Regions from separate parts of the Homo sapiens genome. Here all the other regions are linked to region 3. The links are contacts of gene promoters, found by promoter capture Hi-C in blood cells and fetal thymus (Javierre and others, 2016). All regions are on one chromosome and are shown on one strand. Each heading gives the region's core, a stretch centred on a gene start or on the middle of the fragment in contact. The rest is flanking DNA. Distances are from core to core; before and after follow the strand shown.

What was found. The method cuts DNA at HindIII sites, captures the fragments that hold promoters and counts their contacts. A CHiCAGO score of 5 or more calls a contact.
Region 1: a contact is called between the fragment with the promoter of RPUSD4 here and the fragment with the promoter of ZBTB44 in region 3, in 11 of 17 cell types (neutrophils, total CD4 T cells, activated CD4 T cells and 8 more). The highest score is 16.5, in neutrophils.
Region 2: a contact is called between the fragment with the promoter of THYN1 here and the fragment with the promoter of ZBTB44 in region 3, in 1 of 17 cell types (erythroblasts). The highest score is 6.8, in erythroblasts.
Region 4: the fragment with the promoter of CHEK1 here is called in contact with the fragment with the promoter of ZBTB44 in region 3 in 1 of 17 cell types (fetal thymus); the score reaches 14.4 in fetal thymus.
Region 5: the fragment with the promoter of PUS3 here is called in contact with the fragment with the promoter of ZBTB44 in region 3 in 7 of 17 cell types (fetal thymus, non-activated CD4 T cells, naive CD8 T cells and 4 more); the score reaches 12.2 in fetal thymus.

Annotation. Positions count from the first base shown.
Region 1 is chr11:126,210,384-126,216,085 of GRCh38, reverse strand. It overlaps RPUSD4 (RNA pseudouridine synthase D4), which reads left to right and starts at 4,436. Exons shown (of 7, transcript NM_032795.3): 1 at 4,436-4,636; 2 at 5,031-5,196. The coding sequence starts at 4,448. It overlaps FAM118B (family with sequence similarity 118 member B), which reads right to left and starts at 4,304. Exons shown (of 9, transcript NM_024556.4): 1 at 4,256-4,304. It also overlaps the pseudogene RNU4-86P. RefSeq lists an enhancer at 4,422-4,651. The HindIII fragment of the contact is 5,382 bases long and covers 3,498-5,702 here.
Region 2 is chr11:134,250,057-134,255,774 of GRCh38, reverse strand. THYN1 (thymocyte nuclear protein 1) reads left to right here and starts at 2,423. Exons shown (of 7, transcript NM_014174.3): 1 at 2,423-2,935; 2 at 4,467-4,645; 3 at 5,432-5,500. The coding sequence starts at 2,893. ACAD8 (acyl-CoA dehydrogenase family member 8) reads right to left here and starts at 2,207. Exons shown (of 11, transcript NM_014384.3): 1 at 2,066-2,207. The coding sequence starts at 2,174. RefSeq lists an enhancer at 2,293-2,662. The HindIII fragment of the contact is 5,608 bases long and covers 1-4,114 here.
Region 3 is chr11:130,311,783-130,316,896 of GRCh38, reverse strand. It overlaps ZBTB44 (zinc finger and BTB domain containing 44), which reads left to right and starts at 1,980. Exons shown (of 8, transcript NM_001301098.2): 1 at 1,980-2,522. It overlaps ZBTB44-DT (ZBTB44 divergent transcript), which reads right to left and starts at 1,904. Exons shown (of 7, transcript NR_148980.1): 1 at 1,782-1,904. RefSeq lists silencers at 887-946, 1,857-2,686 and enhancers at 1,247-1,346, 1,517-1,616, 2,777-2,826. The HindIII fragment of the contact is 9,181 bases long and covers 1-5,114 here.
Region 4 is chr11:125,620,946-125,626,886 of GRCh38, reverse strand. CHEK1 (checkpoint kinase 1) reads right to left here and starts at 1,724. Exons shown (of 13, transcript NM_001114122.3): 1 at 875-1,724; 2 at 54-138. The coding sequence starts at 118. LOC118567325 (a long non-coding RNA gene) reads left to right here and starts at 993. Exons shown (of 1, transcript NR_170378.1): 1 at 993-1,750. It overlaps STT3A (STT3 oligosaccharyltransferase complex catalytic subunit A), which reads right to left. Exons shown (of 18, transcript NM_152713.5): 18 at 3,796-5,941. RefSeq lists enhancers at 79-128, 1-232, 1,049-1,558. The HindIII fragment of the contact is 3,445 bases long and covers 41-3,485 here.
Region 5 is chr11:125,900,137-125,905,485 of GRCh38, reverse strand. PUS3 (pseudouridine synthase 3) reads left to right here and starts at 2,280. Exons shown (of 4, transcript NM_031307.4): 1 at 2,280-2,316. It overlaps HYLS1 (HYLS1 centriolar and ciliogenesis associated), which reads right to left. Exons shown (of 3, transcript NM_001134793.2): 3 at 4,840-5,349. The coding sequence ends at 5,218. DDX25 (DEAD-box helicase 25) reads right to left here and starts at 978. Exons shown (of 12, transcript NM_013264.5): 1 at 906-978; 2 at 208-274. The coding sequence starts at 968. The HindIII fragment of the contact is 3,679 bases long and covers 1,568-5,246 here.

The DNA.
Region 1 (5,702 bases), core at 3,187-5,686, 4.1 Mb after region 3:
TGTTTTTTAATTCCAAATCTTTTATTACTATTTGACTTTTAAACTGTATTACACAAATTACTTTTTCTTTTTTGAGATGGGTCTGTCTCTGTCACCCAGGCTGGAGTGCAGTACTGCAATCATGGTTCACTGCAGCTGCAGCCTTGAATTCCCGGGCTCAAATGATCCTCCCACCTCAGCCTCAAGGGTTAGTTAGGACCATAGGTGCGTCACCATGCCCAGCTAATTTTGTGATTTTCTGTAGAGACGAGGTCTTGCTATGTTGCCCAGGCGATCTCAAACTCCTAGGCTCAAAAGATCCTCCCCGCTAGGCCTCCCAAAGTGCTGGGATTAAGGTGTGAGCCATGCACCCCACCCCCATTTAGGACATTTTTTTTTTTTTTTTTTTTGAGACGGAGTCTCATACTTTCACCCAGGCTGGAATGCAGTGGCGCGATCTTGGCTCACTGCAAGCTCTGCCTCCTGGGTTCACGCCACTCTCCTGCCTCAGCCTCCCGAGTAGCTGGGACTACAGGTGCCTGCCACCACGCCCAGCTAATTTTTGTATTTTTAGTAGAGACAGGGTTTCACCGTGTTAGCCAGGATGCTCTCCATCTCCTGATCTCGTGATCCGCCCACCTCGGCCTCCCAAAGTGCTAGGGTTACAGGCGTAAGCCACCGCGCCTGGCCAGAAATCTTAAAAGTATATTCCAACACCACTCAATGAAGTAACCTCCAAACATAAACATTAGCTCAGTGGCAAAAAGTTAAATTCTGGGGACAAGAGCAGAATCCAGTTTCTTAGTATCAATGCTAAATGTATTCAAGATAAATCTGAAATAAATCCCACTAATTCGGGCTGAAAGAGAAGTATTTCAGTATCAGTGGAAAATCTTCATAGACTAGAAACAGAGTTGCAAAAATCTTTCAAATGACAAAAAACTGAAGCCCAAATTATTTGTTCAAGTACGCAGCGGCTGAACTGGAACTAGTCCCACATCTCCTGGCTCCCAATGACTGTACTTTCCAGGGCACCTCCCAAGAGTTCCTGCTAATTGCCTCCTTTAATCTCTCTAAAACCATAAAACAATGTCCAAGTACTTCCTGCTCTTCAAGGAAATGGAATCGCTGGTTAATCTGCAACTAGCAAATCACAGTTTGAGGAGGCGTAACTTAACTTTATACCACTAATTAACCTTAAATTTGTGATAAACGCAAGTTCCTTTATTAGTTAGTCCTTGTTTGTTTATATTTGCGAAATACTAATGCAGCCTTTTTGTTCCTGAATAGACTAGGAAATATCTTTAAAAAGAAACTATCAAGTTCTTCTTTATATGGTTACTTTAGGGGCACATATTATGATATATCAAAATCAATGTAAATAAGTCATGTTTGAACAGAGCCGTAGTCTGCAAGAATGAAGAAATCACTAATAGAATTTCCTTCCTTGTTCTAAGAAAACATTTAGACAAGAGGAGTTCCCAACAAATGGACTGTGACATTGGCGCAGAAGTGGAAAAGTGAACTGCCTAAAAAAGGACCAGCTGAATGAGGAACAGGGAGGAGGCAATATAGAGGTAAAAAAAAAAAAACAAAAAAAAAACAAAAAAAAAAAACAGAAACAAAAGAGTTTTTTGCAGTGGCAGTATTGCAGCCAATGAGGTTTATCTGAGGGGTGATTATTGCTCTTTGAAAATTGGAAAAAAAAAAAAAAAAAAGACATGACATTTGCATAAATTCTTTTTTTTTTTTTTGAGATGGAGTCTTGCTGTGTTGCCCAGACTGGAGTGCAGTGATGCGATCTCGGCTCACTGCAAGCTCCGCCTCCCGGGTTCACGCCATTCTCCCGCCTCAGCCTCCCGAGTAGCTGGGATTACAGGCGCCTGCCACCGCGCCTGGCTAATTTTTTTTTTGTATTTTTAGTAGAGACGGGGGTTTCACCATGTTAGCCAGGATGGTCTCGATCTCCTGACCTCGTGATCTGCCCGCCTCAGCCTCCCAAAGTGCTGGGATTACAGGCGTGGGCCACCGCGCCCGGCCACATAAATTCTTTATACTGAGAACAACTCTACTTTAAATCACCAAGTGCCTAGACTCACCGGAGAAACATTAAGGATGTCATAACTTATGTACCCATACTGGCTAAAGCTGCACTGTCATACCAAACAAAAACTTTGAATTCTTTAAATTTCTCTACAAAGTTTCAACAAGACAAACCTAAAAGTTCCTTCTCCAGAAAAAAGGGACCAATATTTTTATTCTTAAGTCACTAAGTGTGTGCTTTGAGTTAACCTGAAACCCTAGAGCATAAGCTCTGTGTCACTAGCAATGACATTTGAGTTGGTTCTTCATTTTGTTTCCCGCCACAGAAGGCCAACTCTGCAAGAACAGGTGTAGTTTCTTGAATGCCATAAGGTTAGGGTAGAAACAGCCTCTCCCATCCCCGACACAAAACCATAAAAGTCCTGTACCCAAAACAAGTTTTTAATTAATGTAATGATATGAATTTAAGTCCCGATGTCAAAACTTCAGGGTCCTTGGAAAATTGAGCTTCAAGTATCTAAGTAATATGTGATGTTCAAGTGAAATTAGAACCTAGGTCTGGAGCATGGAAGGTAATAATTCTTTTAGGGTGGAATTTCTCAACTTTTATAGACCTCTGTCTTACTGGTAAATTTGCAGGGGGTGGGTGGGGAACAGGAGAAACAGATGTTTCCCAATCTCCCTTGGAAATCTTTGCATTTGTATCTGGATCTGCATTTACACCTGCCTTATAAGAGAAACGTACACAAGCCTTGCTTCTTTCCCACTTTACAAATACATCTTCCTCTACCTTCATTCTTCAGGCCAAACATTGACAGAAATAAGACAATTCAAAATGTTCAGACACACCTAGCATACATTTATGATGCACTTCAGCCATCTAACAGATATCGAGTTTACTATGTGCCAGGTGAGTGGATTAAAAAAAAAAATTCTTCCAGGGACTCACAGATCAACAGCAGCTGCCAAGAGTACGCCTTGACCTGCATAACTCAATTAATTCAAACTCAAAGGAGTTACAGTGTAGGGGGAAAAGACCAGACCTCATCACTGACCACCTAGATTGTAACTAGTTTTCCTACTATCAAACCCTTTCCTTCCCCACTATCAAACCCTTTCCTTCCCCATCTGTCCTGCATTCAACTGCCAGATTCATTTCCAGAATTCCACTTTCAAGGAGTCTCTCTGCCCTACTCGAAAAGCTTCAAAGACTCCTCACTACGTATCACCTCTAGTTCAAACTCTTCAACTTGAGTCTTCTATGAGTAGCTCCACCTGATCAACTTTGTTTCTTGTTGGTACGGCTCCCTTCTGCCAAACCCTTTAGGAGGTGTAGAACCCAAATCTAATTCAACTACCTATTCTCTAATAACTCCTCAGGCAGCCTTCATTCCAAGCAGTCTTAAAAAATTGTTCCTTCTATCGTCACAGATCCATTAGTTTTCAGGACATTCTTTCTGAACTCAGCATAAGCTTTCCTCTTAACAAATGGCAGGTATATCCCAAGTTATTTTTAACACTACCATCCCAAACAGATGTTTATCTTCCCAGCCACCCCTGAGTGAAATCAGAGGGAGTCGCCTGCAGTTCGGGCAAGGGAATCCCAACATCGCATCTCGTGAGAGGAGGTATGGTGTGGTTGCAAACTATGGAGAGGAAAAATAAAGGAAACAGGAAAAGTGAAGGTCTGTGCTCCGTTCTTTCAGCTTTTTCTTTAGGAGGAGTAGGGAAGGTAGGGAGGAGACCCCCAAGAAATGAATTCTTGAGGAAGGGCAGAAAAAACACTCACAGTGCTTCCTAAGTAGGAAATAGGTGCTGGGGGCCCTGGATAAGGGAAGGGGCCGTCATCCTTAGGAGAAGGGTACAGGTTACAACGCGAAACAAAGAGGCTGGGAGTTGGAAGATGAAGGGTGGAGAGACTACAGAGATCCGGGCATCCGATCAAGAGGGTCCCCGACGCGTCCCGCAGGGGACTGGCGGATCACCGGAGATTCAGTGGCTAAGAGGGACGGCGTCGGTGCCTAGGAGGGCTCTGGGGCGAGCGTTTATGGGACATCGCTCCTAAGGGGGCGCGGGGGCGGGGAGGAGTTTTTGAGTGGGATCGTGTACCAAAAGGAGAAACGTTTCTCAGACCAGTGCTCTTCTTGAACGGAAATCCCGGGGACGCAGAAAACGTTAAACCGTTGAGGCACCGGCATTTCCCAGCCCCAGCCCGGCTTCCCTACACACTCACCGAGTCTCCTCCAAACGCCACTGCTCCAGCTGCAGCTACCGGCCGGCGCAGCCGCACTGAGCGCGCACCGTCCCCACGTGACTCGCCCAGGCCCCACCCCGCACCACGTGACCTGCAGGGCCCACCCACTCCCGCCTCATTGTAGTCGCCCTTCTCCACGTGGTCTTGGCTCGCCCCGCCCTTCCTTGTAAGATGGCGGCGCCCAGGTGGAGCGCGTCGGGCCCCTGGATCCGGGGAAACGGCCAAGGTTGCGGGAGTCTCTTCACTCTCGTCTCAAAGCCATTTTGTGCCGCTGCCGCTGCCTCTACGGCCATAAATGCCCAGAGATTAGCGGAGAAGCTCCGAGCCCAGAAACGGGAACAAGACACAAAGAAGGAGCCGGTGAGTCCAAAGGGACCAGAACTCCCTAGAGGCAGTGCGCTCATTGGTTTCCCAGACGGGGAGTAGGTAGGAGGGTCCTCTGAGTGAAAGCGTGTGAGTCAATAGCCCGGACGCAAGGTGGGAGAATGGGGAGAAGGCGGAGGGGAGGGGTCAGTAAGGGTACGGTGTTTTCCCGTGAGCTGGATCTTTGGCTACTGTCAGGCTCAGTCCTAACCACTGCGTCGGTACGCAGGTTAGACAGATGGGTATCTCTGCTCTCAAATTAGTCGAAGGCGGCGCGGGTCTGATGCAAAGATAGTCATTCCCTACTCAGATTCTCACCCAGACCTTTATGGAAGGTCTTCTCCACGGCTTCCGCACCAGGCATTCCCCACGGCTCCTTCTTTCTCCCTAGGTGTCCACAAACGCTGTTCAGCGGAGAGTGCAAGAAATAGTGCGGTTCACACGGCAGCTGCAGCGAGTCCACCCCAACGTGCTTGCTAAGGCACTGACCCGAGGAATTCTCCACCAGGACAAGAACCTTGTGGTCATCAATAAGCCCTACGGTCTCCCTGTGCATGGTAAGGACCACGCGGGAAAGGTGGAGGAACCTGCAGCTGCTTTCTGCTACAACCGAGGAAAACTGAGACGTTACTTGTGGTGCACTCTAAAGCCTTGCATTCAAATTAATTAAACTTTTGTAAACTACCGTCCAATATAAGGAACCACCGAGAACACAGAAATAAATAAATAAGACAGTCCTCCCTTTCTAAACATCTGACAGTAAGCAATTCGTAGAATACGCTGTGTGCAGACTACAGGGATCGCTGTAGAGATATACAAAGGCTGTGTGGTTCTAGACTAAAGGTTATCTTCCATCAGAACTGGGAATGAGAAAATGATACATAAGAAAAAAGGGGGTGTGTGTGTGTGTGTGTGTGTGTGTGTGTATGTATGTTGGAGTATATGTAACATACAACCCCAGAGTGACTGGAATTTAGTGGACCTTCAAATGTCTTTCAACAGATGTTGCATGTAGTTGTCAGGGACAGCTGAAGTGAATCAGGAAAGATTGATTTAAAAAATG
Region 2 (5,718 bases), core at 1,174-3,673, 3.9 Mb before region 3:
ATCAGTAATGGCTGGCTATGCGAGCCTGGAGAGGGCACTGCTTTCTGTGATCAGTACTCTCATTAAAATGGGAAAGTCAGAAATGAAGAGTTCTGAGGATTAACGATTAGGCTGCCTTGAGAAACTCAGAGCAGAAACCTATGTTGGGTATTACCCTCAGGAACAGAGTTAGGGATAAACAATTCATGGTTCTCTGACTGGGGTCAGGCCATTTATTCACACAATTTTGTACAAGGGTTGCTGTTACTGTAGACCATGGCTCAAAGATCATTTCCAAAAGAATGTTTATTGGGTGTTTACTAGGTAGCAGTGCTGGGGTTACAAAAATAAATATGATCCAGCCAGGCGCAGTGGCTCATGCCTGTAATCCCAGACTTTGGGGAGGCCAAGGCAGGTGGATCACTTGAGGTCAGGAGTTCAAGTCCAGCTTGTCCAACATGGTGAAACCCCGTCTCTACTAAAAATATAAAAATTAGCTGGGCATGGTGGCATGTGCTGTAATCCCAGCTACTTGGGAGGCTGAGGCACAAGAATTGCTTGAACCCGTGGGGCAGAGGTTGCGGTGAGTTGAGATCGCACCACTGTACTCCAGCCTGGGCAACAGAAAGAGACTCCATCTCAAAAAAATAAATAAATAAGATCCATTCACACAAAGGATGACTATTTCAATCCTAGCAAGAGCTCATTAAATGTTAACAAATCTTCTTCTTCTGTAAATGGCTACTTCCTAAAACAAATAGTTCAAGGAACCACAGGCTTAAGAAATAAATCTGAGTTGCATTCTAATGGAAGGAAATAGTTTTATGCAAATCATATGCATAAGTAAACACAAGTTCCCAGAAGGAAATACAGTATAAAAACAAAACAAATACCACCACTCATGAACTTTGCCAGTTACTAGCAGAGTTCAAGATGCCAATACATAGTTACTAGCAGAGCTCAAGATGCCAATACATATACACTAAAAAGGTAAAGCTAAATAGAAAAACACTCCAAATGAAATGGGAAAAGCCTTTGACTGCAGAGCCACTCAAGTGTAAGCAAGATGCAAACAATAACAAAACCCACCTCTAAATAATTCCTTATCTGCTTCGGTATCAACCAGGGTAATCTGGGTTATCAAATTCTAAGCGCTAGGCCAGGGCAGCACCTCTTGAATGAGTTTTAGGACATTCAGAAGAAAACAGTATTCTATGCCTTACTGTACTTTATAGATCTGATATCTAAGGGACTTATTCTGTTGTAAAGAAAACTGCCATTTATTTAAAATAAATTTAAAAATATTTCAGAAGAAAAAAGTGTTTATAAACATTCTTGGCAGAGAAGTCACAAACTGGCCGGGTCTCCACCACTCCTCGCTACATTCAAATTACTGTTCAGAGCCTAAAGACACTCAAGTTTGTCAGCTCTGGTAGAGTTTCCCACTGGCAATAATAATTATTTTTCCTGCATGAGTTTCAACACTAAAAGTGTCTTATAGCCAGAGGTGTTAAGATACCAAATCTTTGTGTGTGAGCAAATCTTGTATGACCTGGAGTTCTTGTGCAGTTGTCACCATCAGCACCCAGCCAGCTTCTTATATTCTCACTGCTTTTATGACCTACTGTTATGATTAAAAACCAACCAACCCAACAACAACCAAGCCCCAAGTTTCTTCACTTCTCTAAGCATCCGAGGGTGACCGGCCGCAGGAGGACCCGGGCCGGAGGGGAACCTGCGGGGGGATGACCGGCCGGAGGGGAACCTGCGGGGGGTGACCGGCCGGAGGAGGACCGGGGCGGGGGTGACCGGCCGGAGGAGGACCGGGGCGGGGGTGACCGGCCGGAGGAGGACCCGGGCAGGGGTGACGGGCCAGATGGGGACCCGGATGGTGGTGACCGACCGGAGGGGGCAGCCAGGCCGGGGGTGACCGGCCGGAGTAGGGAGCCAGGCCGGGGGGGTGACTGGCCGGAAGGGGAGCTGACGCCGGGGTGACTGGATGGAACGGGGAGACTGCAGCCCCTCGCGGACATATGTCCGCCGGGGTTCTGGACACCTGTCCTACTGCCCGCCAGGAGATCCTTACGGTCGATGCAGGAGGTCAAGCTCCGGTGGCCGGTCTGGACGAGGACCCGGAGACCGCCGGGCAGGCAGCCGAGGCGCGCCCCGAAACGCCGGCAGCCGCTCCACAGCATAGCCGCCGCAGCTCCGCGTTCAGCTAAGAGTCTGAACGCCTTCGACCTCCGTTGCGCTCGCACTGGCGGGACCTGCGACCCGGCAACGCCTGTCCCACTGCACCCTGGGGGTTGTAGTCCTCCCACGAGCCCTAACAACCCAGGTGCCAGGCGGGCTCCCAAGGGGACAGGACTACAATTCCCAGAAGTCCTCGGGGCCTCGGCGCCGCAGAGATGCACCGCCCACCAAGCGCCGCGGGGGTCGCGCTGCACAGCCTGCGGCGCAGCGGAGGCGGACCGCAGTCGAGTCTGCAGAGTGTTGGGTCTGTAGCCAGCAAATTACTTCATCATCTAGATTATCCATTCAGTTGATCCTAATTAGCAAGGATAACAAGGTAACACAAGGCTTACTTATATTCACCCAACAAAAGTGTCTCTGTGGAGCCACTTCCCAGTGAACTACATACTGAGATAGGGGTTCCTGGATGAGAAGGACCAAGGACAGAACCGAGAAGAGTTTAGGGGCAGGTTATGCGAGATGGAAATGGCGCAGATAACGGAGGGAAGGATTTGAGGGCTCAAACGTAGGCGTCTGTGTTTCGCAAAAGTTGGAGACGTTCTAGGCTGCCTCTCGTTGCCTCCATCTCGCTCTGCGCGGGTTTTGGAGGACATTAGCATTCTTTCTTGTATCTCCGTTGATTCCAGAATCGTCCGCACTAAAGTCCCCTGCAGCGTGACCATGTCGAGACCCCGGAAGAGGCTGGCTGGGACTTCTGGTTCAGGTGAGCTGCCCCTAGGCTGCACAAAGGCAGCCCAAGAAAAAACTTTTCTCGAAGAGCCTGTTTAGTACTCATTTTTCACTCCCTGCTTTTTGAGAACCCTTTGTGATATTTTTACTCCATTATCCTTAATCACTCTCCATCTTCTTTACTTGTCTCACCAAGCTCCTACCTACAGTTCCTTTTTCTTGTTTATTCAGGCAATGGTTGTTGTGCACAAAGACTCTTTGAGATACCAGGTGGCGTGCTAAAGAATATAAAGCGCCTGCTTGCGGGTGAACTGCAAACAGATGTGATGGGGTTCAGGAAAATGGATTGTTAAGTTTATGGAGGGAGGAATCACGGGGAAGGCCTCGAGAAGGATGTGGAATTTGAGCCCAGCCTTGAAGAATGGGAGACTTTCCACGGGCAAAGTTTAGTACTAAGAAAACGTGATGTCGTTTTTATAATCACAAAGATGGATGGCATTCTAAGTGGATGGAGGAGGAGGAACATTGGAAGGTACAGAAAGTACCTCTTTTGGGAATGACAGGGGTTCCAGATATACTACAGCACATTGCAGTTATTTATCAATATGTGGTGTTTGCAGTGGGCCTGTTAACTCCTAAGGGGCCATTAGGAAACTAGGTTAGGAAGGTATGCTGGGTTCAGAGCATTAGACAGCCATAAATGGTATTTAATGACAATTGATGTAGGGACTTTGACTAAATTCAGAGGCAGTATAGTCATTAAGTAGCTTCAGATAGACCTCAGTGACAGGTGCTGACCTCATATCTTGATTCCACCATTACTGGATGTGTGATCTGGAGCATGCTTCCCAGATGAAGAGTAGAACATCTCACAGGTTATGTAGATTAACCGAGTTAGGGTTAGGGTAACACATAGACCTTGGGCCCTGTCATATAGTAATTTAACAACTTAGCTACTGAATGCCTACTGTGTTCCAGGCACATTCTGATTGTCTTGGGATGAAATCGAATCATCACCATTTTTCTACAATGTCCTGAATGAACTGTTTCTTTCAACTTTTATTGGCACCTTCAAGGAGCAGAAAGGAGATGGGCCAGGAGCCACAGTGAGCAAGAAGGAAAGACGTATGAGATGAGAATAATAATGCTTTTATTATGCACTTATTGTAATGCCAGGCATTGTCTAGGCCCTTTGTATTACCTCATTTAAGCTTCAAAATAGTTGCAAGTAGGTGCTCAGTTTCCTCTTTCCTATGCAAAGGCATAGAAGAGAGAGTGAGGAAAGGAAAACATGTATTGACTACTGTCCGGACCTTTAATCCTGAACAACCCTGTAAGGTGTTCTTACCCTATTGAATAGATAATCCAGAAGATACCCTGTAAGGTAGGTATTCTTGTCTAATTTTTATAGATAAGGAAAGCTTCTTAACAGTAAGATTAAGTTCCTACAGCTGGTAATGGATCCATGATTTGAATCCAGGTCTGACTCCAAAGCTAAGCTTTTTCCATTATGAAACATTGCCTTTAACAAGCATGATCTTTTCTTTTTGCTTCTCCTATTGCAGACAAGGGACTATCAGGAAAACGCACCAAAACTGAGAACTCAGGTGAGGCATTAGCTAAAGTGGAGGACTCCAACCCTCAGAAGACTTCAGCCACTAAAAACTGTTTGAAGAATCTAAGCAGCCACTGGCTGATGAAGTCAGAGCCAGAGAGCCGCCTAGAGAAAGGTGTAGATGTGAAGGTGAGACCCTTGACCTGTCTCCAGTCCCTTCATGGTGTTTTTTAAATGAGAAGTGAATATGGGACACCATAGGGTTCCATCCCCAGCTTCTTATCTTTGAAGGGAAGGAAAAAGGTAAAAATGAATAAAATCGGCAGGGTTTATTATCATCAGCTGGTTTGTGAACCTGTGTATCTAGGGCAGGGGTTGGCTAACCTTTGCCACAAAGGGCCAGATAGTAAATTTTGTAGGCTTGTGCGTGTTACAGTCTCTGTTGCAACCCTGCCCTTGTAGCAAGAGAGTGGCCACAGATAATAAGTAAACAGCTGTGGCTGTGTTCAAGTTCAACTTTATTCACAAAATCCAGCATGGGGTTAGATTTGTCCTGAAGGCTATAGTCTGCCAACCTCAATCTTAGGTTACCTTTCTCTGAACACCTGCCATGCTCCTAGGTGTCTCCCTGCCAACAGTTGATGTATATTTCAGGGAATTTAATATAGCCTGGGAAAAATATAAGCAGAACTATTATAAATATAAAGTAAAATGCAAGTAACTAGCAGATTACTTTATCACCTAGATTATTCATTCAGCTAATCCTCATAATTAGCAAGGATAACAAGGTAACACAAGGCTTACTTACATTCACCCAGCAAAAGTGTCTCTGTGGAGCCACTTCCCGGTGAACTACATACTTCCTCTATAGCCAGTGGCCCCTCTCATTTTAGGGGAAGGAACTGTCTGCTTCCATATGTGCTTACTAACTGGCCAAGGATTGTTTAATGATTGAATTTATTTCCTCTTGCCTAGTTCAGCATTGAGGATCTCAAAGCACAGCCCAAACAGACAACATGCTGGGATGGTGTTCGTAACTACCAGGTAAGAGGGTAAGGAGGAGGTCGCCTGAGACCCAGGTGGGATGAATGCCTGCCTCCTCCTCATGACGTACTCAGTAGCAGAACCTCTTGGCCAAGGTTGCTTTTTCTCAGAAGCAAACCTGATAATGTATTAAAAAATGCCTTAAGTACTCTGCATGAAATTTTCAATTGGCCTGTGTTCTGGCCAATGTCCTGGTAAAAGTCTGGGTGTCCTGGCAA
Region 3 (5,114 bases), core at 731-3,230:
AATATCCACACTACCCAAAGCCACCTACAGGTACAGTACAATCCCTACCAAAATATCAATGACACTCATCACAGAACTAGAAAAAAAAATCCTAAAATTTGTATGGAACCACAAAAGACCCTGAAAAGCTAGGGCAATTCTGAGCAAAAATAACAAAGCTAGAGGCATTCCTCTACCTGACTTCAAGTTGTACTACAAAGGAAAGCAAATTTTTGTGTCAGTGTAGTAGTTGAGGAGCTGCCACCACAGCCCCTGGAGAAGCACTTAGAAAAGACTTGCCTCATGGTCTTTTATTGACTATCCTGTTAAAGGCACTAGGAGAGGTAGATAGGATTTGACTACTTCATTTCCACCCTGATTCTTGTCCAGTTGCTTACCACCTACATACATTCTCACACATTCCTCACCAGGGCCCCAGCTCATGCCCTTTCCTGAGCCCTGCTCTGTGGCCGCCAGTCCTCTCCCAGGTAAGCATTCCGCCTTCTTTCCCTTCCCCTCTTCAAAACTTAGTGCAAAAGTTTCTGGGCCTAGTTCGCATCTTTCTGATTTTTCTCATCTCTGAAATGGGAATAATAAGAATGATAGTGGGAATAATAATAGAAACCTGTGATAAAACCTGTGAATTACAGTTGCCGTAAGGATTAGATAACATTATACATGCTTGAAAACTTGTTGGAAACTGCGAAGGACTATAAAAACAGAAGTTGTTTTTATTGCCTTTATTCCTAAAGAAGATTGCAAGTGTCAGGGTGTTCAGGTGCTTGGCTGCTTGTCTCTCAGAGTGAATTAATGTGAGATGTTGCCAAGTGTTTCAAAAGGAAAATCCACTCTACTTCAGCGGGACGTCCACCCACCTTGCACAAAACCCTCTGGAAAGAAGTCTTTCGGTTTGCAAACTGGAGGCGTGGGAAAACAGAAAGCGCCCAAGGAGCACCTGCCCGCACCCCGCCCGCCCCCAGGCACCTGGGGCGCTGCCGCCTGCAGTCCCGGGAACCCCTATGACCTCCGGGGGCGGTGTGGAGAGCGCTCGCCCGCCTGGCCAGGGGAAGCCAAGACTTAGGGCCCTAGGAGTTAACTAGGTTGATTGATTTTGCAGTTGACCAAGAACTTCAAAACCCCCCGGGCGGTACCGGTTACTTCGGGGAGGCCCGCACACTTCCTCCGGGAAGGCCAGGAAGTAAGTGATGGTGCAGTAAAAATGACAGATTCACGGTTGTGGAAGAAGTAGGGTATATTTTTGGAGCAGCTCTAGCTGTCCCTGTGTTGGAAGAACGAGAGGGACCTGGGAGTCCGTTTCTCCACTCATCTCAAGAACCGCACGTCCTGCCAGGTCACCGAGGCAAGTGCTAGAACGGAAGAGAGCAAGCACTGCGAGGAGGCCCGAGGAGCCACGCAATCCAGACACCCGCCGCATGTCGCAGTCCGCCCAGGACGGGGGCGCGGGCTCACCTGTCTGCGGGGCGGCCCTTGGCAGGCCTGTTTCCATGGGTGAACAATGGGCACCTTACCAACTAACCTCCCTCGCCGAAGAGGGGCTGAAGTGTTTCTATTTCGACCTCCCTACAAAAACTACCCGAGAAAATAGGAGTTATGTTTTTAGTTCGAAGAAAAAAATAATGCTATAAATGTGACTCCTGCGGAGAAATGCTTCTCAGGTGTGAGAGGGGAACTGGGTAAGAGGACGGCTTAGAGGAAGGACAAATGGGACAGGGCTTATGGGGCATGTGAATGTAAATCGGCACATGTGCGCACATATGCAAAAATACAGTGTCAAGACTCACGGCCTTTCTGGGTCACGCAGGCTCCACCGTCTAAGGAGACGGAGTCACCAACAGTACAAGTCCCGACGGCCAAGAGGGCCCATTTTCTGCGCTTGCGCAATCATCACGTTTCCTTCCCCGCCCCGAGCCCCGCCCCCGAGCGCGCTCCGCCCCGCCCCCTTCTCCTCCCCTTCCCCAGCCAGGCCGCCGGCGCAGAGCATTGTGGGACACAAACAAAGTGCCCCCAAACAGGCTGGAGTGAGCGGAGCGGCAACGGCGGCGGCGCCGGCCGCACGCGCGCGGCGGCGGCTCCCTCCCAACCTCCCCCTCCCCTCCCCTCAGTCCCCTTCCCCTTCCCCACCCCGCCCCGCTGGGAACACGCGAGCCGTCGCCGCGCTCCCCAAACAACCGCCTGCCCTCGGCCAACCGTCCCCAACGGTCGCCAGCGCGCGGCTCCCGGGCCCCCTCGCTCCTCCCCTCTGGCCCCTCCGAGCGCTGGGGGTGCTTCCCTCCCCGCCTCCTCGCACTCCCACTCGCGGGCACGCCGGTGGCTGTGCCGCCATGCCCCACCACAGGCTGCTCACGGGCCTAGGCGCGGCGGCCCGAGATAGGGGCCCCTGAGCCTCCCGGGGGAGGAGAGAGGCAGCGAGCCGCGCTCCGCCCCCTCCCCCCGGGCCGCCGCCGCCGCCGCCTCGCCGCCCCAGCCTGGCGGGAGAAGGAGGAGGAGCAGCAGGCCTCCGGGCCCGGCGCCGCCGCCCGCAGGTAACGGGGAGGGGAGGGCGGGCTCCGGTCGCGCGGGGGACGGCCCCTGCACGCTGCCCGTGGCTGACACCGCGTGGCCCCCACCTGGCGCCGAAGGGAGCGGAGAGCCGGGTCTGTCAGCCTAGTCCGCGCCGGGAGACACCCCACGGGATCCCCTCGGTGGCATTTAATCCTTCTGGGAGGAGACCGGCCTTGGGCCCCGCGGTCCCGGAGCAGTTACCCCGACCTTCCAGGGAGCTGCCCGTCCTTTGCACGCCCATTTGCCCAACACCCTAACCCGGAGCGGCCGGAGTGTTGCCACCTCTCACCTGGTCGAACCCGGGAGGCTCAGACCTGTTTTTTTTCCTCCTTTCCCCTTCTGCTTTTTCTCTGGTACAGAAAGAAAAAGATGGCACTTCTTTAAAAAAATATATATATATATATATACACACACACAAACACACACACACATACACACACACACACACCTCTTTTCCTTTCCTTCCTGAGGATCACTCTGCATCTAGTCGTTTTATTGCTGGCCTAATCAGAAAAAGGGGTTACCTCGAGAAATGACAGGTACGTTAGAACTGATTAAAAGGAAATTGCGTCCATGTGAGTTCTATGAATCCAAGCAGAATTTACAATAAAACCCCGTAATTGTGTGCTTTTTTTTGGAACTTACAAAAATGAAGACAAAAACTTAATTTCTTTTTCAGCGTGTAAGTAGATAATCTCTTGAAGTCAGGAAGAAATTCTCCATAACTTCCACTTATTTTCTTAATGCTTTATTTGGAGATCGGCTGATACCGGAAGCAAGCTGCACGATTTTGATTTCCTTTTCTCTAGGTGTTCAGTTGGAATTCTTGGGTTTAAAAAATACTGTATAAATCTTCATTTCCCCCATTACTTCACTTGGACTGTCAGTGGATTAATAATAATTTTACCTAATGTAGTTTCCCCTTATCATAGAATGTGAATATAATGAACGTAGTCCTTTAGTTTTGTATTTTAGGATTATTAGTAATGTACTGATTAATTATGAAAACCAGATTATTCATTTTGTGCAGTACTGCTTGGCATTTTTGCATTTGTAATTATTTAATTCTCAGAACAACCTAATGATGCAGATATTATTACTTGAATTTTATAGAAGTGACAAACTTAGTGATACGAAGAATTACAACTTGCCTTAGGGCACACAACTAGTAAGATAGTTTAGATTTCAACCCAAATATAATTCCAGTATAGATGTACTTTCGTGTACTTTCTACCGTACTTCTCAATAGAAGTACAATTTTATTAACTTTGTTATGAAAAATTTTAGTCGTATAGAGGTTCGTTCTATACAATTGTGATCGGTTATTCATGCAATGAATAAAAATGCTAATCAATGCAATGAATAACCAACTCAGTGATTAGCATTTTTGCCATATTGTTTCCTGTCTTTCTCTGTATGTGTGTAATTATTTGAAAGTAAGCTGCAAACACTGTAATCCTCAAATATTTCGGCATGTGTTTCCTAAAAATAGGGACATTCTCCTACTAACCCCAGTATCATTATTAATGCCTATCAAAATTAACAACTCCATCTTCAAAATTCCTCAGTTGTTCCAAAGTGTCTTTGAGGGTTCTGCCCCCAGTTGTAGTCAGTCAAGATTCATGCATTGATTGCATTTGGTGATTAAGTCTTTAGTCATTTTGTAAAATGAAGAGTATCCATCCCCTCTTCTTTTTGCAGGGGAAATTAAATAGGATGAATATTCCCTCCCTTCTTTTTTTCTGACACGTAATTGACCAAACCAGTTGTCTTGTAAAATATACCCACATTCTGGATTTGTGCCCTCCTAATGTCATTTCGTTTATTCCTCTTTCTCCCTGAATTTCCTATTAACTGGAAGTTAGGTGTAAAGGAAGGCTTAATTAGCTTAAAGTAAAACTTCCTTTGGCAAGAATATTTAATAGGTGATGCTGTGTACCTCCTGTTGCATAATATAGGAGGCACACAATGTCAGATTCCCACACTATTAATGATGCTAAATGTAACCATTTGATTAAAGTGCTGACTACTGATCTGTTGTAAAGGTGTGGTTTGCCAGTTTGTGATTAATATGTAATCTTGGGGTAAAACTTGGACACTAAGCAAATACCCAGTTTCTGACAATCTTTTGCTTAGTGGTTTTTAGCACCCATGATGACTTTTGCTTAAATCAGTTATTGGAGGTTCTCTGTAAGGAAGAGATTTCCTTCATTAAGTGCAGGTAAACTATTGTTCTTCCCCAAAATGCAAATTAAATGTTAAATTTAATCTCTTTACTTTTCAATATTCATAGTAAAGAGCTGGAGAAATAGCCACCCCCAATGATGTTTTTTGGGGCAGGGGTGAATGATACCACTTCAGACTCTCATGGGTTTTAATTTATTCCTTGTTTTATAACCAGTTACAGTCGTCTTTCTTTTTAATGACCAAATTGTCCCAGATTTGGTCAGTAGGAACCATTTCAAGCTGACTATTGTGTGTCTTGACACCCCTGCTCCCCATTAATCTTGGAGTGCTTTCTGACACGAGTTACTCCAGGGTTTATCTTATACTTTCTTTGCTCACCTCTGGAA
Region 4 (5,941 bases), core at 475-2,974, 4.7 Mb after region 3:
CCAAAACAATGAATATGCACTCAGAAAACGAAGGCAAGCTTAAAAGAACTCACTCTCCATAGGCACCTTCTCCCAGGGTTTGCACCAAGTCCCAGTCTTCCACAAAGGGCACTGCCATGACTCCACCGAGCACCTCGGCTGTAAAAGGCAGGAATCCAGAAAAGATGTAGAGTGTAAGATCACCAGTGAAGCCACTGAGCCCCGCCTCTCCCCAGGATTGCCCACGAAAATTAACAGCTCTTGCCTTCCCCTTCTATCTCATCCACATTTATCCAAGTCTTTCAACCACGAACAACTATTCTAAACCTGACCATTTTGTCGTGTAAATCACAATCGCCACTCCCAAGCACACCGAAGGTTGAAATTCTGCCCTCCTCAGGCCCCAGAGGAAATTAATTGTTGTTATGAAGAGGTGGGAGACAAATGCTTTCCGGCGAACGACTGGGGAAGGAGGAGGGAGAGGTGGGGGTCTGGGGAAGAGAGGAAGAGGATATAGGGAGCGGTATGGGGCAGAAAACGCCTGCGGCAGCGCCTCCTCCCAATTGCTCAATTCCAATTCCCATCCCCATCCACAGCCCCACCCGTCCCAAAGGCCGGGGCGGGGCCAAACTGCCCCCAGAGGCGAAAGGAAGGGCTGGGACTCTTCCTTGGGGTTCTTAGCTAGCAGCGGGTTAGTCCCTCCTGCCCCCGCCCCCACAACGGGAACCTCCTGGTACCATTCCTCCACCCTCCGAAACCGCCCCTCCGCAGGAGTCTCTCCAATCCCCTGCGCTAGTCAATGCTAACTTTCTCCCACCATGCCCTCCCTCACTAATCTAGACCCCGAACTCCTTCTTTAGAAACCTTCCCTACTCTACCGGCCGCCCTTCCTCACCGGACTGTCCTTTGCCCACCACTGCAGGAATCCAAATGCAGCGCTTTTCCCGCCAAAACTTGAGGGCGTCACGCTGCCGCAAACTCGCGCACCCGCGCCGTAAAGCAAGACAGCGCGCGTTCCCGTGTCCTGCCCCTCTGAATGTCGGCGGCTCCAAAAGGGTGACGTGGAGATGTTGCCGCTCCCGCCCAGGGCTGCTTTGCAGTCGGGGAGAGATCCTGGCTGAAGAGATTTAAGGACGGCGGACCGCATCGGCGCGAATTGAGCTCTGGGCCCAAATATGAAGTGGCATCCGGTGTGAGGCTCGACTGGGCGGTGCTCGAGCGCTGCTGGGGGAAGCCCAGGCCTCCAAGCCTCAGGGGCGCGCGACCGACCGCGCTGCGCTTCCAGGCGGGGCTGCGGGCTTCGCTCCTGGCCGCTCTGGGCCTGAAAGGCTGCACCGCCACCTGCGTGAGGCCACCGGACAGGACTGTGAGGATCACAGTCGGTGAAGCAGAGTGCTTTGTAAACCTCAGAGTGCGGTACTCGTGGTGCTGGAGCCGAGAAACCAGCAGCAGCTGCTGAGAGCCGACTGTGAAGAAATGGGAGGAACTCCGTGTTGGGAGCGAGAGGCTTCGAAAGAACTGGCCACGCAGTCAAGTGTGTGTGGCGGGGCAAGTTTCCCGGAGAAAGCGAGCAGTTTATGTTGGAGCTTGAAGTCAGGATAACCAGTTTTGCCTTTTTTCTGTGAACCAGCTCCAAAACAATGCTTTACTTCAGCCCGGTCTTTTTGCAGGAAGACCATCTGCTTAGCTTAGTTCTACAAACTTTTTCATTTTTAATGTGCAAAGAACAGGCGGGGAGAGCCAAAATAAATCTTACAACGCAAATTTAAAAGCTGCGTACGTCATTTAAGTGGAAAAGTAAATTCTGAGGAAAGAGACTCAAGAACAAAATAGGAAAAATGGAAATAAGTATTCTCTGACAGTAAACTAGACTGGAACTCAGGGATAGGCAGGATCATCTCCATTACATTCTCCAGCACTGGCCGGGCGCAGTGGCTCCTGCCTGTAATTCCAGCACTTTGGGAAGGCGAGGCAGGAGAATGGCTTGAGGCCAGGAGTTCAGGACCAGCCTGGGGAACATAGGGAGACCCCATCTCTACAAATAAAAAAATTTAGGAATTAGTCGGGCTTGGTGGTGTGTCCCTGTAGCCCTAGCTACTTGGGAGGCCTAAGCAGAACAATCGTTTGAGTCCAGGAGTTAGAGGTTAGTGAGCACTACTGCACTCCAGCCTGGGCAACAGCATGATTCCGTAGGAAAAAAACATATTTTTTTATATGTATATATTTTATATATATACATATATATTTTCTTAGTCCTTAAGACTGGGCCACATACAAACACTAAGCATAACTGGCTATTATGATAATAGTAAAGTGAAACAAGTATAAAATGTTACTCAAGGCCGGGGCCTGGTGGCTCACACGTGTAATCCCAACACTTTGGGAAGCTGAGGCGTATGGATCACCTGAGGTCAGCAGTTCAAGACCAGCCTGGCCAACATGGTGAAACCCCCGTCTCTACTAAAAATACAAAAATTAGCCGGGCACGATGGCGAGTGCCTGTAATCCCAGCTACCCAGGAGGCAGAGGCTGCAGTGAGCAGAGATTGTGCCACTGCACTCCAGCCTGGGCAACAGAGCAAGACTCCGTCTCAAAAACAAACAACCAACAACAAAAACACACATTTCTTTTAAAGAAGCAAAGTCAGGAACAAAAATCAAGGAAAAAACTCTTAAAATGCTTATGTGTATAGTTTTGAATCATGACATCACAGATTAGGCTTCATGTAATCTTTTTACAGTTTGTTGTTTTTGGAGACAGGGTGTGTTGCTCTGTCACCCAGGCTGGAGTGCAATTGGGCAGTCTTAGCTCACTGCAGCCTGGAACTCCTGAGCTCAAGTGATCCTCCTACCTCAGCATCCCAAGTCACTGGGATTACAGAAGCGAGCCACAGGGCCTGGTATAAAAATAAAAGCAAGTTTTTATATCATTTATCCCATTTTCTCTTGTTTCCTCACTGTGTGCTGAAAACAAAGAATACGAAGAGGAAGACCTGCAAATTTCCTGTGTGTCTGATGGAGTCTTTTTAGCCTGAAAAAAAAAAAAAAAAAGATATACAGACTCCAGCAGAATACCAGTTAAAGACAGAATACATAGAAATAGCCTCTATTCTCTTCTGAAAGCCCACTAAAATATTTTAATAGTAAAGGATACCAATATTTAAAAGAACCCATAAGAACAGAGTATGAGACACATTTTGGAAAGCAGAAAGCCTTTAGATGAAAGGTAATGAAGATGAATCCCAAAGCTAGCAATGGAAAGCAGAATTAACATCACAGAACTCTGAAAAAGCTCAAGTTGAACTGGTGACACCAGGTAACTGAAGGTGGAGGTAAAAATGGGGCTAAAAGGGGTAGGTTTAAAGGCTACATAAAAAACAAATAGATCCCCGTATCCCTTCCCTTTCTATGTAACCAAGGAACTGTCCCTCCCCAAAGCTGGTACGAGATTTAAGAGGGTAAATGCACAGTATGTGAACTGGAGACCATTAGGCACAGTTAAAAGCTTGGGCACCTTACTGAAAACGGAGGGATTAAGTTTAAGTTTTATCCACTGAAGGTTGAGCCTGTTACAACTTCTTTCCCTACTCTACTCCCAGAAAGCTGACTGCCTGGCTTACATCCTTGAGTAAGAGAATATGCAAGCCTTCTCAAGGGAATCTTACCTATGCAAAAGATAAAAATCTAAAAATCAGTATCATGGATTTCCCAATGTAACAGCCCAGCCAGATCACAGTAGATTGAAACCCACATTATTAATCCCCATCTACACCCCCTACAAACAGACCTTTCAATCAGCTTTTTTGGGTCCCACTCTTTTTTTTTTTTTTTTTTTTTTTTGAGACAGTCTTGCTCTGTCTCCCAGGTTGGAGTGCAGTGGCATGATGTCTGCTCACTGCAACCTCCACCTCCTGGGCAATTCTCATGCCTCAGCCTCCCCAGTAGCTGAGATTACAGGGTGTGTACCCCACACCCAGCTAATTTTTGTATTTTTAGTAGAGACAGAGTTTTCCCACGTTGCCAGGCCGGTCTCAAACTCCTGGCCTCAAGTGATCTGCCTGCCTCGGCCTCCCAAAGTGCTGGGATTACAGGCATGATCCACTGCGCCCTGCCTAGGGTCCCACTCTTAAAGAGGAGCAGACTAGCAAGAATTTGAGAAAGTCTTTAATATGAAAGACATCAAAACTATGCTTAGTGTTCATTAGCCATGTTGCCCAGGCTGGTCTTGAACTCCTGGGCTCAAGTGATCCGCATGCTTCAGCCTCCCAAAGTGCTGGGATTACAGGCATGAGCCACTGCACCTGGCCTAGATTTGAGTTTTTTATGCTAAGTACACAATAACAGTGAAAATGAAGAGTACACTTTTTAAAAAGATAGCTTCATGTAGCCTAGAAAGTAACAAAATTAAGATCCTCAGAGCAACAACTGTAGCGACAAGTTAAAAGTTATCCTATGTATAGTATAAAGGAAGATCATTAATAATTTCTAACTGGTATTAATCATATTGATAAATAATTCAGAATAACCTCTTCCACTAAAGATTCTTTATAGAAATCAAGTAATGTACTTACATATAGTAAATCAAATCTTGAGGCTAAATCTCACCCACAGTTGAAGAACATGGTATATAAATTGGTTTGGAAGGCTAAGTGCCCTGGCTATACAAATATACAACAGCATATCCCTTAGGAGCACCACTATGACTAATCTAAAAGTTATGCAATTCCTCCTGTTCCCTTAAATGGATAACACTAAACAGTTAGCTTTTATTAACGCCTTAGGGTTTATATACATCAGTGATATATTCATAGGCTCTTTGTCCTGATATTAAATGTCCTCAAGGACCACTGTGCTTCCCAGTTAAATTGTTTTTGTTTAGACAAGATTTCACTGTCGCCCAGACTGGAGTACAGTGGCACAATCACAGTTCACTGTAGCCTCAACCTCCCAGGCCCAAGTGATCCTCCAATCTCATCTTCCCGAGTAGCTGGGACTACAGGTGTACACCACCATACCTGGCTAATTTTTATTTTTCATAGAAACAATCTCCTTATGTTGCCCAGGCTTAAAACTTTTTAAGAAGTTTCTCCTCTTTTCTTGCAGGCAGGCTGGCACTGCTCTCTAGGGACCTGTTACTGGCAATGCTTCCCCTTTTAATTTGTATCTTATTTGGAAAGAGCTTCAAAATTAGGTAGTTGAACTTGGTAACAATATACAACAGCAACACATAGGCTAAGACTAAGGGAAAAAGAAGCTCACCTTTGAACAACCACAAGAGTTTTGAGTAAAGGGTCATTCCTGTGTCATGAATAAGTGAGAGTACTGAAAAGCTCCATTTCAAATTGATATGTATGATTATATTTAAGCTGATTCAAAAACACCTACTGACCATCAAGCTCTATATGTAATGCTGGAAGAGTTTCTTCCTCTCCATTGATAAACCAATAATTTCACTGTTTGTCTTGAGTCTTCAAAACTGCTGATTTATAAAGTCAAAGAGCGTCTAAGGATAAAAGACATTGAGAACAGAGACATAGTAGCCCAGAAAGGCACTCTTCTAGCACTCTTCTGGTCCCACATTTATTCATTCAATAAAAATTTATTGAGCCACGCTGTTTCCAAGGAATTGTACTAGGTGCTGCAATGCAAAGGGTTATGACAAAACTGTCTGTAAATGTAGGATCTGAATTGGTCTTTGATAGTTTTCCTGATTTGAGAAAGAAGTCTCTATTTGGCTAATTTAGGGAGCTAAGAGAATGGACAAGGTCTGCTTATGTCCTTCTGGCAGCCTAGCATAGCTTTTGCCTCCCTCAAATCAGTTATAAGTCAAAACAAATAAGGCACATTTTTTAAAAAAATTCCCCCCTTTAATTGACCAAAGTAAAGCCATGACATTTCATTTGGTAACCTGTTTAGAATTATAAAAATCATTTCATTTGGCCCAGCCCATACTGCCCAAGACA
Region 5 (5,349 bases), core at 1,031-3,530, 4.4 Mb after region 3:
TTCAATTTTTTCTTCCTGACTCTTCAGTGTCTACTGGCAAGAAGAGTCATTTCATGGAGGAATGGACGAAACGATTGGGAAGGTAATGGAGAGTGCTGAATGTCACACTAATGAATCCGCGGTGTTTCACTTGGCAGGGACGTGATGAAAGCAAAACAATACTTTTTAATCATTGAGGTCGCTCTGCTTTGCCCTAACAGCACTCACCTATGTTTCGGACTGCAGTACTCTTAATACCCCAAAGGTTCTTCCGGGGTTGGCTGAGGTTTGAAAACTATTGAGAGACACAAATTTCAACCAATATTAGGATGCAAGCCCTCAAGCAGCCCAGTGCTTCCCTACCACAGGGGCTGGGAGGGATTCAGGGAAGGACACCCGGGTATTGCTTCCTTTGCAATATTAGGTAGCAGCAGATTCCTTTCAAGGTTGGGTTTCCTGTATGAGTTACCCTAAAATTGGAGATTTTCTGTATTCCCTGTACATGCAGTTTCTCTTTCCTAGGCCTCTAGTTTAGAGTTGGGCAGTACTTGGGGCTCACGGCACCAACAAGGGGAGGGTGGCTAGGAAAGTGCGCTGGCAAATGGATGGAAGCGAGGTGAGGCTTAATGGGCAAATGGGCAGAGTAGAAAACTCGGGGTCTAGCTGGGACTACCAGCTGCGTTCCCACCCTGGATTTCCAGGGGTCGTCATTTTTGCCCTTTCTAACCAAAGGTCTTGCCTCTCGTGGGGGTGGGGACGGGGTCTCCCTCTGTGGCCCTCTTCCAAACCCTTCCCGCATCTCCCCTCCAGCATCTGACGCCCCACTTCGAACGCTCGCGGGCTCTCCCTCCCCTCCCAGCCGATCTCCCTCTGCGAGTGGGAGCTCCACCCCCGCGGCTGTGGCCCCCCGGCTCGGTGGCGGTTACGTGGCTGTTCAGCCGCTCGCTCTCCGCCGCCCCTGCGTCGCCTCCCCACAGTAACGACGCCATGGCTGCGATTGCTGCTCCCGCCCCCAGCACGTGCTTCCACCACCGGCGCGAGGCGGTGCTGGCCCCATCCGCTGGCCAATGGGCTTCCTTAGGGGGCAGGCGTCCGCGTCCGCGCCCGCGACCACCGCGGTGCGGCGCGCAGGCGCTGGAAGGCTGGGTGGCGCGCGGAAGGGGCGGAGGGCAGAGAGCGGGGCGGGGGGCAGAGAGCGGGGCGGAGGGCAGAGAGCGGGGCGGAGGGCAGAGAGCGGGGCGAAAGGGCGCGGACCGGAGGGCAGAGGGGGCAGCTTCCGCAGAGTGGAGAGCGCCCCCCGCGCCGCCCCGCGGCCCGCCGCTCACACAGCCCTCCAGGCGGGAGCCCCCCGGACTCCCCGCCGCGCTTTACGCCCCGTGTCGGTTTCCCTGGAAATTTCCGCCTCCACATCACAAGATGTCAGAAAGGTTAGCGAATTGGTTAGCAAAGTGGAGACAAAATCTGATGAATTTGATATGACGAATGACCTCGAATGCCACAGTTGCGGAAAGGAAGCAGAACTGTTCAAGCTCTAACTGCTGTTCCTGCCCTAGATACCTGTGATGTTCCACATAGGCTTTTTAAAGCTTTTATTCTGAAATGTGGTCTCTTGTTAAAAACATTACCTTTCGGTATAACCTCTACGTCCTACATGCGTTTGCATAATCCGGTATAGATCCCTGGATCCCTGGTACTAATGATTTAATGACCGCTCAATTTGGACGAAAGAACCAAATTCCACCTCCCCCCCGCCCCCCAGTTTTCTAATTGTAATTTTGAGATTTTGATCAGCATTTCTGGAATTGGGGGCAAAAATACAAAAACCCACACGAAACTGCAGTCATGATCTCTCCGTGGTGCTGAAGCAACGCTCCCCGCTCTGTTCGGTCACTCTCAGGGCACCTAGTCGTTTGTTTTGAGATTATCATATTCATTTCAGCTTTTAATTTGAATTCTAATAGTAAATGTTTTTGTCTCTCAATGGTAACTTTCTTCTCATTTAACTAGGTATAAAATCGAGCCAAGATCTTCAATCTTTTAGTTTTCGTATAAGGATAGCAGAATTTGAAAAATTACCTTTTTTCTATTATTTTAGCGTAGCACTACAATTCCTCCTTTTATTGCTGTCCCGCCACAGGCCCAGATTCTGCCCTGTGGGCGGAGAAACGGTAGCTGGACTAGAAAACCTCAGGTAGATTCTAGCACCAAGCTCGGTTCTCAGAACTACATTTCCCACAAACTTGGACTACACCTCCCATGAGGGCTCGGGCGCCTGCGCAGAAGACGCACAGTGACAGCTTCCTTTCTCGGAAACGCGGCGCGGCCGGCTGCCGGAAAGTAAGTGTGGGATTTTTGGAGTGGGTTACTTTCTGGGTTCCACAGGGGAAGGGACAAATGGACACACTGCTGAACGGTTGTCTGTTGTCTTCTTTTTGCCCTCTTTCACATACTTTGGTCTTTTCAGGAAAGCATTGCCGTATGGAAATGAGACCTCGCTTAAGACCATGTATTTTTCTTTTGTGCCTGGTACTTTCTGGAGCTCTCGGTGGAAACTCGCCGCAGTAGGGTCGTCTTTAATTCCGTTGTGACGGGAGCTTCAGTGGTACTTGTACTGTGGAGTACAAAAGTGCTCTGCTGCCCCACTTAGAATTGGGTGCTCATAAAACAGTAGAAGTTGAGAACCCAGGAGTATGTGGGAGGCTGTGGCAGCAATTTTCAAATTATTTTGGGGATTGCCTTACATACAGACCACGATTGCTTTCTAGTGATCATAGTGCGTGTCTGCTAATCCTTTGGACAGTACTCCCTCTTCTTCCCTTTGGATTAATATAAAGTTTATCAAGAGGAATGCTATTTATGTGTTAACCCACTGGTTCCTGAGATTAGGACTTTTTTTTTTTTTTTTTTAAGACTGTCGCCCAGGCTGAGTGAAGTGGCGTGATCACTGCTCACTGCAGCCTCTACCTCCTGGGCTCAAGCGATCCTTCCACCTCAGCCTCCAACTAGCTGGGACTGCAGGCGTGCGCCATCTTGGCAGCCTAGTTTTTAATTTTTTAATTAACACACGGTCTCGCTGTGTTGCCCAGGTTGGTCTCGAACTCCTGACTTCGAGCGACCCCCCCTCCCCCCCGCCACCACCCCGTCTTGGCCTCTCAAAATGTTGGGATGACAGGCGTGAGCCACGGCGCCTGGCCCAATGTATGGAACATCTGGTGATGGCCGTTTTAGTTTGTAATTGGTGCTTAGGGGACACACGAATTCCCTCTCTGTGGTTACTTCGCAGCCCTGGCCAGGGTGTTACTTTAAACGTCTGCTTGGGAACTCCTGCACTTCACCCTGAATTAGGGTAAGGTGTGCTGGAAAAAGCACTGTAGTGTACCAAGTCCTGTTTTTGCCACAAATCTGCCTTATGACCAACTAGACTCACTCCCTGGCCTAGTTCTTTAGTTAGCACGGGAGTTGAACTTTGGAGACTTTGGTAATGTTGGACTTTGAGATCCAAATAATCACTGGAGTGTTTTGCATGTTAAAATCACCATGTAATTTTTGACCTCATAAAAAGTCGAGGTATAAATACAAATTACCTTTAATCCCACTACTCGTTAGGTTTTGATCTTTCCCTGTGTGTACTGAGATCATCCTGTATAGTTTATGATACATTCATGTCACTTAATTTCACCTTCCCATATTACTTTCCCAAGATTCCCAATGACTATTTAATATTCTAATGTCTTTAAAGACATTTACTATTCCACTGTTGGTGGACAGTTTGCAGTTTCTACTTTTTTGCGGTGAGTATATCCTACATGTACCTGAGTCATTGATTACTTCTTTTCCAGACAAATGCCTAACAAATAGAACTGGGTGAATGTGTGAATTATGTGGCTTTAAATGTTACAGGGAAAATGATTTTCGCAGATAGTAACGGTCAAGGTCATTCACCTTTATGTTAGAACTTTTTCTCTGTGAACAAGCAAACTGTACTATCATTCTTCTGGCCTCTGGTGTTAAAACTGACAACTTTCAGATTTTAGATGGTCCCCGTTGGGTCAGAAATATCAAGAACAGATAAATTACAATTTAAGGTGAGCAGAATTCCTATTTTGATCTGCACCCAAACAGGCTAGGTTCATATTGGTATTTATGTTTGCATCTGATTCCAGATGTTACTAGTTTGAATTTCTACTGGAGTAGGAATACCCTTCCAAATGATGCATAATTCCTACAAAAATCTCAGGGGCAAATTATAAAAAGAATGGTATTCCAGAAATAACAGCTGGCAGGCAAAATATTAATGAAATAATTCTGAAATAAAACAAGTTTGAATCCTGTATGTTATATGGTACTGTTTTGGGGCATTTGTTAGAAAGTATTTTAAAGCTACTTGGATTTGTTGTACACCTTTAGTAATGAGGCTATCCATGTTGTTAACCTCTCCCATCCTTTAGGACTATGTAAAAGGCAGGTTTTTGTTCCTTCTTTTTTTTTTTTTTTTTTTGAGACGGAGTCTCGCTGTCGCCCAGGCTGGAGTGCAGTGGCGCAATCTCGGCTCACTGCAGGCCCCGCCCCCTGGGGTTCACGCCATTCTCCTGCCTCAGCCTCCCGAGTAGCTGGGACTACAGGCGCCCGCCACCTCGCCCGGCTAATTTTTTGTATTTTTAGTAGAGACGGGGTTTCGCCGTGTTAGCCAGGATGGTCTCGATCTCCTGACCTCGTGATCCGCCCGCCTCAGCCTCCCAAAGTGCTGGGATTACAGGCGTGAGCCACCGCGCCCGGCTTGTTCCTTCTTTTGAGCTCTCATCATAGCCCAGGTTCAAGATCATCTTAGGCAAGTATTTCATGAAATAATGTTCAAGTTCATGAATTTCCAAAATTCTTTAATTGGTAAGTGTAATGCCCAGCAACTTAAAAAACACACACTGAAGCACAGCAACTCATATTGATAGGTAAAAAAAGTTACAGGACACAAAGGGCCCTTACTAATTTGACAAAATAGAAAGACCAGGTCTGTTGTTCTTTCTCTGATATGATTTATCTTGCAATTGCTGGATTTGAGTGGCAATTTGGAAGTATCATCTGATACCAATGTGATATATAGCTAGGAAAGACCAATGATAGGTGAAGTCCTTACCATAAAATGTTTCGAAGAGCTTCTCAAGACAGTTGTTTCTATTTAAAAGGGAAGATATAAAGAGCTAGGTTATCTCAAACAATCCTGTGAAAGAAGTTTAAAAAGATTTAAGAAGGAGAAAGAGGGAAGGGAAGCTTCCTGGGTATGACACCATTTGCAAGGTCACAACGAACACCCCAACGGAGTGCAGACCTTTTCTTCTCTGTTGGTACTAGATAATTGTTTGGGACATATATATG